Linked DNA regions of Homo sapiens: region 2 is linked to region 1. The links are contacts of gene promoters, found by promoter capture Hi-C in blood cells and fetal thymus (Javierre and others, 2016). All regions are on one chromosome and are shown on one strand. Each heading gives the region's core, a stretch centred on a gene start or on the middle of the fragment in contact. The rest is flanking DNA. Distances are from core to core; before and after follow the strand shown. Region 1 holds the start of FAM111A (FAM111 trypsin like peptidase A). Region 2 has its middle 12 kb from the start of GLYATL1.

What was found. The method cuts DNA at HindIII sites, captures the fragments that hold promoters and counts their contacts. A CHiCAGO score of 5 or more calls a contact.
Region 2: a fragment that was not itself captured here is called in contact with the fragment with the promoter of FAM111A in region 1 in 1 of 17 cell types (fetal thymus); the score reaches 7.6 in fetal thymus.

What each region holds. Positions count from the first base shown.
Region 1 is chr11:59,138,536-59,144,359 of GRCh38, reverse strand. FAM111A (FAM111 trypsin like peptidase A) reads right to left here and starts at 1,504. Exons shown (of 6, transcript NM_001312909.2): 1 at 1,414-1,504; 2 at 1,056-1,277; 3 at 665-863. FAM111A-DT (FAM111A divergent transcript) reads left to right here and starts at 1,552. Exons shown (of 4, transcript NR_110184.1): 1 at 1,552-1,745; 2 at 4,193-4,403. It also overlaps the pseudogene LOC100422399. RefSeq lists an enhancer at 1,287-1,736. The HindIII fragment of the contact is 3,476 bases long and covers 1-3,388 here.
Region 2 is chr11:58,924,867-58,930,375 of GRCh38, reverse strand. It overlaps a transcript of GLYATL1 not described here. Among named protein-coding and RNA genes, the nearest start is that of GLYATL1, 12 kb to the left of the region's middle. RefSeq lists an enhancer at 2,495-3,009. The HindIII fragment of the contact is 4,843 bases long and covers 1,351-5,509 here.

The DNA of each region.
Region 1 (5,824 bases), core at 255-2,754:
AGCAAAAAGAAACTGGAGTTCAACCTGATGCAAGATCTACTTTCTCCACCTTTGAGATCAGGGAGAGCCTCAAGAAGGTTGAAGGGACTTCAGGGCACACACTGATTCTGAGTTGAGGGTTGGGAGGTTGATTAGGTCTTGCTGGAGCCTCCAAGAATGTCAAATGTTGGCTCCCAGTAATATCAAAGCAACCTGTTGATAAGACAAAGCTAAGTTTCTTGCTCACTTAGGTAATGGAGAACAATAACTTGACAGAATTTAAGTGGTGTCTCAGAGAGGGAAGAGCAAGTTTGGGCTATATGTATTGAGATTTTGAAGTCCCATTGTAAGTCTAATATTTAATGAGGGGAATTGGTTAGAATTGAGTCAGCTACGGGTAAAAGTTTAGGATTGGTAGATAAAACAAGGCTAGGATTTTGAGGTAAAGGTTCAAAGTCTTAGAATGTAAACTGTTCTTTGATGTTTTCCATTGAAGAGTGGTTGGATCTTTGAAGAAGATACTGGATTAAGCAATAAAGATATTTGCAACTTTCCGGTCCCTGGCAAAAGTTTCTTGAAATAGTAAATGTATGTTGATGAAAATAATGGAATAAGAAGTCAGGTTAATGTAGTTGGCAAGCTATGTGAGTGTAGATGGCTTCAGTTCTCACAATAGTGAACATACCTGATAATGTACTCAACATTTGTCACTTAGAGTATTTTATCCTGGAAAGAAGCGTAGTTGGGAAAACGCACTTGAGATGATGTTTGCTGCACACAGAATTCGGACACAGAGATGTGAATCTCCTTAGGAACCATTTTCATAAAGTTAACATTGGGTCTTAATAGACATCAGTTTTTAAAAATTAGAACAGGCTTGGGCACTGCAAAAGAAAGACACATCCGTTCACTTGGCTGTTCTTTTTAAGTTTCCAGGGAGAGCGTCAGTGCCCCTTTCAACAATAAAAGCCCGCAGGAGTGCAGATTTTATTTACCCTGTCCCCACCAGCATCCTGCTGCGGCCAATGAATCCTGGCAAAACTCCAGGTCAGCCCCAGAACCAAAGAGTAACTCACCTAAGAGGAAGGTCCGTTCCCACCAAGTCTCAGACGCCTGAACTCGTGATTTTTAGGGACTTTCCCTTCCAGTCCCTTGGAATCCAGCACTTTGGTTGGAGAACAGAACTCACTTGGGGAATGGCGCGTCTGGCCAATGGAATGAAAGATACTGGAGTTTGTCTTTTCTCTTCAGGCAGCAACTCACCTACTTCGGAAGCCGATTGGCTGCGCTGGGGACACCTGTTGGCGTGCAAAAAAGAGTGGTTGGAAAGGCAAGGCCGAGGGGGCGCGCCTACCCTACCCACCCACAGCGCTCCTCCTTGACGCCGCGAGCAGGACCCTGTCTCACTGACCCCGTGCCCACGGCGGTCCTTGCCTGCTTCTATTCTCCCGGTTTCCCCAGTCCCGAGTATTGGAAAGCGAGAGCGAAAGCGAAAGCATCCTAGTCGCCGGTAGGCTGGCCTGGGCCGGGCTGGAGAGGGAGCAGGAAATAAAAACTCGGGTGTGGGAGGAGCTGGGACGCTGGCGGCAGAGCCACTGTGGCAGCTTGAGTCTCGCGCGCGCAGGAAGCGGAGGTGGAAGTTGGGGCGCAGGAATGTGGCTGTCCCCGCCTGTAAATCATGGTTGGGGAGGAGTCGCGGAGGCACCAGGCTGGGGTCTGCAGCGCGCCATCTGCTGCAGCACACAGGAGGCGCTGAGGCTAGTTGGGTAAGTGGGGAGATTTCAGGCACTTCCGAGGGGGCGGCATCCCCAGCAGGTGGGATAGGCCCGGTGACTAGGACAAAATCACGAAGAAGCCGCGGATGCAGGAAGAGTAAACTCCCTTGTCATAAATCGATTCTCCAAACGTTCATCAATATGTGGAGACGTTTATGATAGTGATGAAGAAGATGATATGGGCTCTAGGAATATGCATCTCAAAGCTGATGATCGAAGAAGATTGGAGAGGGTTTTCAAGGCAGCCTGCTGTTTAAGGACCTGCATTCTGAGTAGATGTGTATTGGAAAAGGCGATTACAGTCACAAAGGGGACAACTTTTATGCAATTGACAGAGGACTATATGATGTATATAAACAGATAGGGTTGAAAGGTGTGTTGGTAACTACAAAACACATGGGAATTTGAAGGAAGGAACTGGCCTTAAATGCATGTACAATACACCAAGAGAAGCTAAAATTACTGCTTCATCTTCTGTGGGTTCTTTGGGGTTTGGATAGAGTAACCTTAAAACATATTTGAATGCTGACTTTTTCTATGAGACTCACTTTTGGAATCTGTGCATTCCTACATTCACAAAGGGTAATCACAGCTAGTACCCAGCATCCAAACAATAGCAGCCAATAATTCTAATCTGGAGAAAATTTTCTTTTCTCTCTCTTTCTCTCTCTCTCTCTCTTTCTTTCTTTCTCTTTCTTTCTTTCTTTCTCTTTCTTTTTTTCTTTTTCTTTCCTTCTTTCTTTCTCTTTTTTCTTTTCTTCTTCATTCCTTCCTTCCTTTCTTCCTTTCTTTTTTCTCTTTATTTCTTCTCTTTCTTTCTTTCTTCTTTCTTTTTTCTTTTATCTTTCTTTCTTTCTCACTTTTCTCCTTCCCTCCCTCCCTCCTTTCTTCCTTCTTTCTCTTTTGCCTGTTTTACATTTTAATGTGTAAGCAAATAGTGATTAAAGGACAATAGGCTTAACATTTTCTAAAACATGGGTGTTCAGAATTGAATATACTGATAAAATTTGTTTCCAAAAGGAAGGATTATATACTAGGTGGGAGTGTAAATTAGTTCAACCATTGTGGAAAACAGTGTGGCAATTCCTCAAAGACTTAAAAACAGAACTACCATTCAACCCAGCAATCCCATGACTGGGTATGTACCCAAAGGAATATAAATCATTCTTTCATAAAGACACACGAACACGTATGTTCCTTGCAGCGCTGTTCACAATAGCAAAGAATCAACCTAAATGCCTATCAGTGGTAGGCTGGATAAAGAAAACTCAGTATACCATTGAATACTACACAGCCATAAAAAATAATGAGATCATGTCCTGTACAGGGACATGGATGGAGCTAGAGGCCATTATTCTTGGCAAACTAATGCAGGAACAGAAATCAAATACTGCATATTATCACTTATACGTGGGAGCTAAATGATGAGAACACATGGACACGCAGAGGGGAACAACAGACGCTGGGGCCTATCGGAGGGTGGTGGATGGAAGAAGGGAGAGGATCGGGAAAAACAACTAATGGGTACTAGGCTTAATACCTTGGTGGTGAAATAATCTGTACATCAAACCCCCATGACATGAGTTTATCTATATAGCAGACCTGCACATGTACCACTAAACTTAAATAAAGCTTTTAAAAAAGTTTTCAATCTACGAAGTTGAGATTTACTAGAAAGGTTATTCAAATGACTTTGACATATTGAAATATTAGTGCACAAGGAGATAATAAAAAGTTATTATTATAGAAGATATAAAACTTGTACCACCTAATATCTGTGCAACTAAATCTACTATGTACCAAGATATTTATCAATATTCTTTCTGAAATTTTTATGTCGTTTTGTATAATTTTAATCATATTTCTTTTAAAAACATTTATGGCATGATAAGTTATGTGTTGGCTTATTGCGGAAAGGGCCTAAAATAACAATTCTTAAACTTTATATATATTTGCAATGAAATATATTTTGGCTTTAGACAATAGGAACATAACCTTTTTTTGGATGAAAGATTACTGTCACATTTTTTCTTCATTATCTGACATCTTTGTCATTTTCTTAACTTATATTACTAATTAAAGTTCCCTACCTTTTCAAAAGAAAAAAAGTCTAATATTGACATTTATTTATCTGTAGCAAACTTTAGCTATTGTTTTTTCTACTAATTTCAGGCAAAAATGAAGTATTAATTTCAGTTACAAAATATAGCTTAGTAAGATCTAAACCAAATAAAATTCACATTCTAAAGACTACAAACAAGTTTTAAAAAGATATTTTGGCCATTAAACTTATTTATTAAATTTAACTTTTGTCTTCTAAGAACCAGAGTTCTTACAATTACTATGAAGCTCCTATTCTATAATCATAGCCTGGGTTCCTTGTCAATGCTTCATTAAACAGGCTATTTTTTTCTTTTTTCTTTTTTCTTTTTTTTTAGAGACAGAGTCTCACTGTGTCACCCAGGCTGGAGTGAAGTGGCATGATCTTGGCTTACTGAAACCTCCATCTCCCAGGTTCAAGCGATTCTCATGCCTCAGCCACTTGAGTAGCTGGGACTACAGGATTTCGCCATGTTCCCCAGGCTGGTCTCAAACTCCTGAACTCAGGCAGCCCGCCTACCTTGGCCTCCCAAAGTGCTAGGATTACAGGTATGAACCACCGCGCCCGGCCAGTTTCTTAATTCTTAGACTAAATCTACGGGGGACACACTTTTGCCAACATTAGCTGCAAAGGGTTTTTTCCTCCACACTTAAGTCACGGTCAGTAAGTAGTTTTTTTTTTTTTCCTGTGTTTTTGTTTCCTTGTTTGTTTTTATTTGGGAAAATGCCTCTTTTGATAGTAATGAATTATTTTTTACACGCAAGGTCAAAAACAGCATGGAGTGAATTTTCTTCCACACGTATACACCCTTTTTTATTCCTGCCTCTGGCTGTAAATAGTTGCACAGTTAAAAGCAGGATGGACTTAACGGAGTATCATTTATATTTATAATTGCTGTATTTGTAATTCTGCTACAGAAATGAATTCTGTTATTATAATCAAAGGTTACACTGTTATCTGAATTCTTGAAAAATATGTAAAAATACTGCTCTTGTGGCTTTTCATAGGTTTATAGTCTATAAACACTAATTTTAATCAATAATTCATATCATTTATGATTAATTTTATGAGAAACAGATAACAATAATAGACATAGGCATAATTATTTTGTGACAGCTGGTGTGTTTGGAGTATTTACTATCACCCTTAAATATGATACCCTGGCTGGAAAACATTAATTTGATAACATACCTTTAAGAAATTATATAAAATATGCAAAAGCATAACCTTATGCACATTTTTAAAACAAGGCCTTCTTGTAGGAAAAAGATTACACCATGCATGAAGATGTTTTGTTTTCTATCATTATTTGAATTTATTTTAAAGGCCATTACTGCTCTGTGTGTGTATATATATATATATACATAAATATACATATATATACACACACGTATGAAACCAAAAATTCCAGGTTCATCATATTATACACAGATTTTCTTTTTTGTTGCCCTTATTCTTAATCATTGAAAGCACTGAAAATCAATACCTGTTTGATAAGATGTGCAATCAAGTTAAAAATATCACAGTTATTATATATAAAACTTTCTTAAGATTACTTTTGTAGTAACCTTTAAAAGGGGTGGTGGTGGTGTGGGATCCCTTGGCAAAGTCCAACTTGGCTGCTTAACTGCTTTCATTGGCCTGGCTAACACTTATGTCTGCCCACGGAAGCAGCAGGGAGTGTGTAGAGGGAAATGACCTCTGCTGCTGTACTGCTTTGAGTTCCTCTCTGAGCTTGGCATTTACATGTGTCTGTTTCATTTAATACTCTCAATAACCCTGTGGGGAAGGTGAGATTATCTTCGCCATTTCACAAAAAGCTTTAGCAAATAATTGTGCAGAAACATCCTTATGAGGATTTGTATTCCCATCTGAAACTAGAAGCCAAACTTATTCTATTGAATGATGGCTGCCTCTCAGATCTAACTGCAAAAAGGCACAGTGGCTTACTTCTTCCTAGTATAATGCT
Region 2 (5,509 bases), core at 2,523-5,022, 220 kb after region 1:
CTAAAATAAATTTTATTTACCAGCTAAATAAAGGCAGTAATTGTGAGCACTCCTGTATTCTTCCTCATTGTAAAGGAAATACTTATAACGATTCATTATTTCACATTATGTTCCTTGTGAGATTTTGAAGTTGCCCTTAATCTGCCTAAGAAACCTTCTGGTATGTTTATACTTATATATTTGATAGTAATAGGGGCAGCCAAGATAAAGTAAGCCCTTTATAGCACATTATTTCCACTAATTAAAACTAAAGACTTTGGAAAAAAATTTTTTTTTAAAGCAGCATCCTGAGCTTCTACTCTGGCCACCATGGAATAACAGAGAACTAATTTGCACTCCTGCCTGAAAAACCTGGAGAAATAAACAAAATATTCAAAATGGCTTCCAAGACATTGAGCATTAGTCAAAGAAGGACAGTGATCCTTGAGAAACACAAAGAAATGATCCAGACTCTAAGACTGCCCCAGCTTACTGCCTGAAGAGAGGCTCTAGGCCATGATGCAGGTGAAAGAATCCAGGCAAAGCTCATTTGCAACTGAGTTGAGGAAAAGGAAATGAGTTCAGGGAAGCCAATGAGTTTAGCTTTCGAAGGGCAGGAGAGGACTGTACAGAGAGGGTCCCCATGAGTCTTTAGATGAGTAGTGATCTGCACATGCATGTGAGGAAATTACCTAGGTCTGAGAAACCAGCTAACTAAAAAGAGTAGAAGGAACAATCCCTGGAGGTCTTACAGAGCTGGGAATATTGCTGTTCCTGTCAGACCTAGAAAAAAACATCATAATTTGGGGGGCATTGAGTACAATACCAAAAAGAAGTTTGGCTCAGCAATAGGGAAAAATTAGCTCTATAATATACGGGTGAAACATTACAAAAAAAGAAAACTGCAGGCCAATATAAAGATAAATGCAAGAACTAACAGGTAAATACCAGTTATGCAAGGTTGGTTTAACTTTTGAAAATTATATCACTGTAATAAGCCAATTAGAATAATTAAAATTTCTATATATACATAGAATCATCTCAATAGACATAGAAGAAGAGTTTGGTAAAGCTGATATCTATTTCTAATAAGAATATCAGCAACCTAGGAATAAAAGGGAACTTCTTAAATCTCATGAAGAACACTTATGAAAAACTTAGAGGTAACATCATACTTAATGGGATAGGACTGAATGCATTCCCAAGACTAGAAAAAAGTCAAGAATGTCTGCTCTGGCAGATTCTATTCACCATTGTGCTGGATTGTTGGGATTCACACAGGATGGTGGCAGAAGTATTAAAGGAAAATATTAGGGAAAGTTATAGGGAATAGTCACAAACCTTTTTGAAAGGTTGAAAGGTTATAAAGCTTGTAATAATTGAACAGGCTGAAGGCAGCCATTTCTTACCTTAGAGCATTAGGTCATAGGGTAAATACTAGGGACAACACAGGCTTCCCCAGTTAGATCTGTTTACCCTACCTCCATTAAGTAACCTTTGAGACAGATGGCCCTCTTGGGGGTAGTTTGACCAAGGATATTGCCCCCTAATGGTATTTACTTTAAACCAGGGTACCTGAGTTTTAATCATTCCTAGAACTACTCTCTTAACCATGTTAATTATCCACAAGTGTGTTTACTCAAATCTTCTGTTGTTAATTCTACACTAAATAAACTCCTAGAGTCTGAGCTACTCAGGGCAAGCTGCAGTGACAAACCTCTTTTGGTTTACAGGCGGTCAGACACTCAGCATGACTGGCAAAACAGATTATCTGTGTGTCAGTGTACATTTTATTCATCCGTCGTTTGGGTCAGGGTCTGCGGGCAGACACAGGTAGCTACTGCCCTGTTGTGAGAAGCAATACCTCAATTGGTGCCCCATGTGAGGAGAGCTGTGTGAGGACAGTCAGGGGTCTGCAGAAACAGACCTTCCGCAGTTGGAGCCCCTTGTAAGGCAAGCTATGAAGGAAGTGTAAGGACCGCTTTCATGAGGAAAGCTGCAAAGGAAGCCTGAGGAATGCGACGGGCCCCCAGGAAACAAAGGTGAAGAAAAACCGCGTGGTCAAGTCAGTGAGTAACTAGTAAGTCATTGGTGCCCACTCAAGGTTACCAAGTTCTGGGGAAAGTTGGTTCAAGCTGAGATTTCATCATGGGACAACAGTTATTAGCACAGCAGAAACATTATATAAAAGTATTACAACAGCTGCTTAAGGCTAGTGGAGCTTCAGTTTCACAGGCTCAATTAAGGCACCTAATCATGCATGCTAGACAAATTGCTGTAATGCAAACTGTTAAATCCCAAAGTCCATGGTTCCCAGAAGAAGGAACGCTAGACATAGAGCTCCGGGAAACAAGTGGGGAGAGATCTTAAAAACATCAGTTGCAAAGGCAGCAAGTCCCAGTAACAGCTTTAACGTTATGGGCTTTAACTAGAGCAGCCCTGGCTCAGTCACACACGGAAAAGCCTAAAAAGGGGCAGGAAGAGGAAACATTACCTGCCTTATCACCTCGTCTTCCCTGGGCCCTAATCACCAGGCGGAATTAACAGAGAGGAAAAGGAGGTCTTACCTGAGCTTCCTCCAATAGATAAGAAAAAAGGCAGAGGATACACTACAGTTATCAGTTCCCGTCTTAAGCAGGCTGAATTAAAAGAAGATCTCTTAGCCTGCCCAGTAACGCAAAATTGGCAAAGCGATCAGATACCTAAAGGGTTAAAAAAGGGCATTAGAAGCTAGAGCTGCATTGCCAAGCAAGCAGTGAGAAAAAACTAAAACTCCGCCCACATGGCAGCAGAGGCAACGAAGAGCTAAGCCACCATTGGAGCTAGCCTGCAGGGGAGGGGCGAGAGGCACATACAACAAAGTCAGCCCAAGGGGAGGCTGGGGTCCACCCTGGCCAGGAACAGCCAATGGGTGCCTGCGGGAGGGAGCCAGCACAGGCAAAAAGCAGCGCTTTTACAAGTGCAAAGCAGCCAAAGCCCCAGGACGCACCTGCCTGACTCTCTAGCTTTGCAGACAGCCCACAGCAAAATTTCCTGTGCTCCTTGTTTACAAGTGACATCCCAAATTATAATTCTCTGCTAAAATTTAAGTAAAATGTAAGAATTTGAAAAACCTCTTTTCAGATAATAGCCACTGCTGTTATCTCTCTCCTACCCCCGAGGTAGCTCTACAAATCCAGTTTAAGTAAAACAGTAGCCTCTGAAGGGAGAGAGATTAAGGAGGGCCCATGAATTAAAGAATAATTAAAAGTTAGGCATGTAAAACCACACATTACCCTTAGAGGAGAACTTTAAACCTAATTAAATGATATTTGTTCAATTAAAAGGTGAAAATATTGTGCCCTTCTCAAAAGGTGAAGAAGAGTTATATGTAAGTGTAGCCAAAACATGCATGAATGACTGTCTTAACCCACTGATTACAGATAGTCTTTGATTCATACTTGCTAAAAGAGTCCCAAATTAAGTTCCCCAGTTAGTGAGTCACTGTTTTCAAGACTGTTTTCCAGATTAAAGTCCATAAACTTGGTCAGCCTGAGAACTCCATTGCAACATTTAAGCTATTCTGCCTGTGGCTTTAAGCACATGGTTAAAATATATAATTTAAGTCTCTGCTTCTAAAGATGCTTTCAGATTTTCTTTTTAAACTTCACGTTATTTATTTCAGCTTGCCATCTTAATGATTAATGCAGTCAATTGCTAAGTTATGACTCGATATCATCAAAATTCCTTTAAGTAAAATGCAATTCAAAGCCGTATTGCAATCCCCCATACCAAATGCTTTAACACTGTTTACTGATGGGTCTGGTAAACATGGAAGAGCAGTAGTCTAATAGAGACCACATAATCCAATCACTGGATCTAGGTTTACTGGCACTCAAAGAGCTCAGGTTACTCTGTGTATTTGTTAAAGAACTTTTACAGCCTCAATTAAGTTTACTCTGGTGCACACTCTGTGTACTCTTTTTCTGACTTCGGCAATTGCTGGACCAACGTACACATCCTGTTTTTATTACACATATTCAAGCCCACAGCTCACTGCCTGGCCCATTGGCTTATGTCAATGAACGAGCAGACCTTCAGGTGATGACATCACTGCTAGGCCTAGCCACCCAATCGCATCAATTTTTCCACCAAAATTGGAGAAACTTATCTAAACAATTTCAACTTACTCAGAGGCTGGCTACAACAATTATCCTACAATGTCCAGATTGCCAGCTCACAGGCACGTCCCCTCCTTCAACAAGTGTTAACCCTAGAGGATTGGAACCTAAGCAGTTATGGCAAACATATTACACACATGCCTAAATTTGGAAAACTAAGATATGTGTGTGTATCCATTGATAATAACACTCATTTAATTAATGCACATGCTCTGCCTGTAGAGTCTACTCAAGATGTCATTAAACATCTTTTAACTTTTGCATTTATAGGATAGCCCACAAAGATTAAAGCTGATAATGGACCAGCTTATGCCAGCTGACAATTTCAACAATTTTATCACACGTGGAATATTCAACATTCCACAGGCATCCCATATAACTCCAAAGGTCAAGCAATAGTAAAAAATCAGAAAAAGGGGAATATAGGTAAAGACCCTGCAACACTACTGGCACAAACCTTGTTTACCCATAATTTTCTAAATTCAGATGACAAATTTCAATCAGCTGTAGAAAAACACTTTGCTAAAACCTCTCAAGGCATAAAACCAGCAGTTTTATGGAAAAATGTGAACAGTAATAAATGGTGTGGTCCAAATAAATTATTAACATGAGAAAGAATGTGTGCATATGTCCACCCCTAGAAAGAGAAATAAAGGGAAAGAATGATTTAAAAAGAAACTAGAAGAAACAGATCAGAAAGAGACACAAAAAGAAAGACTAAGGAAAGAAAGTGGGAAGAAGGAAAAGGAAATATTTAAAAAGTTATTAATATAAGAATGCACCCTTAGTAAGGAAGATTACAAAACAGAGTTAAAAAGTTAAGGCATGTCAAAAATTGTCTGTGAAAGTCGTGAAGAATGTTATAAAAGGGATTCATGCAGGAAATGTATAATTTTTGTTTTGAAAGTCTAAGCAAGTTGTAAAATGTTAATTGTAAAAAATTCTATATGTAAACATATTGGCTAAATTTAAAAAAGTATCCAGTTTTTTTCTGTAAACTAGACATTAAAATGAAGCACAAGTTTTTCTTGAAGTACTATCCTGCTCTTTAAAGATTATAAAGATCTCTTAGCACAGGTACCACCCCTAGAATTTCCAGTACACCAGCACCAGCCTGGAGACTGTATCCTCATCCAAGGATGGAAAGAAAAAAAACTCAAGCCAGCCTAGGAAAAACCCTAAGGACCCACAGCCTCAACAATGTGGCTTCCAGGAACAGCACAGGCCTCACACATTATGCTAAGGAAGCAGAAGGCTAAGCCAAATAATTTACTCATTTTTAATTCTCTCACTTTGCCTATTACCTATACCTGCTACACTCTATTAAGCTCATCTTCTGAATCTGCCTTTTGTCAGCCCTTTTACTTAAA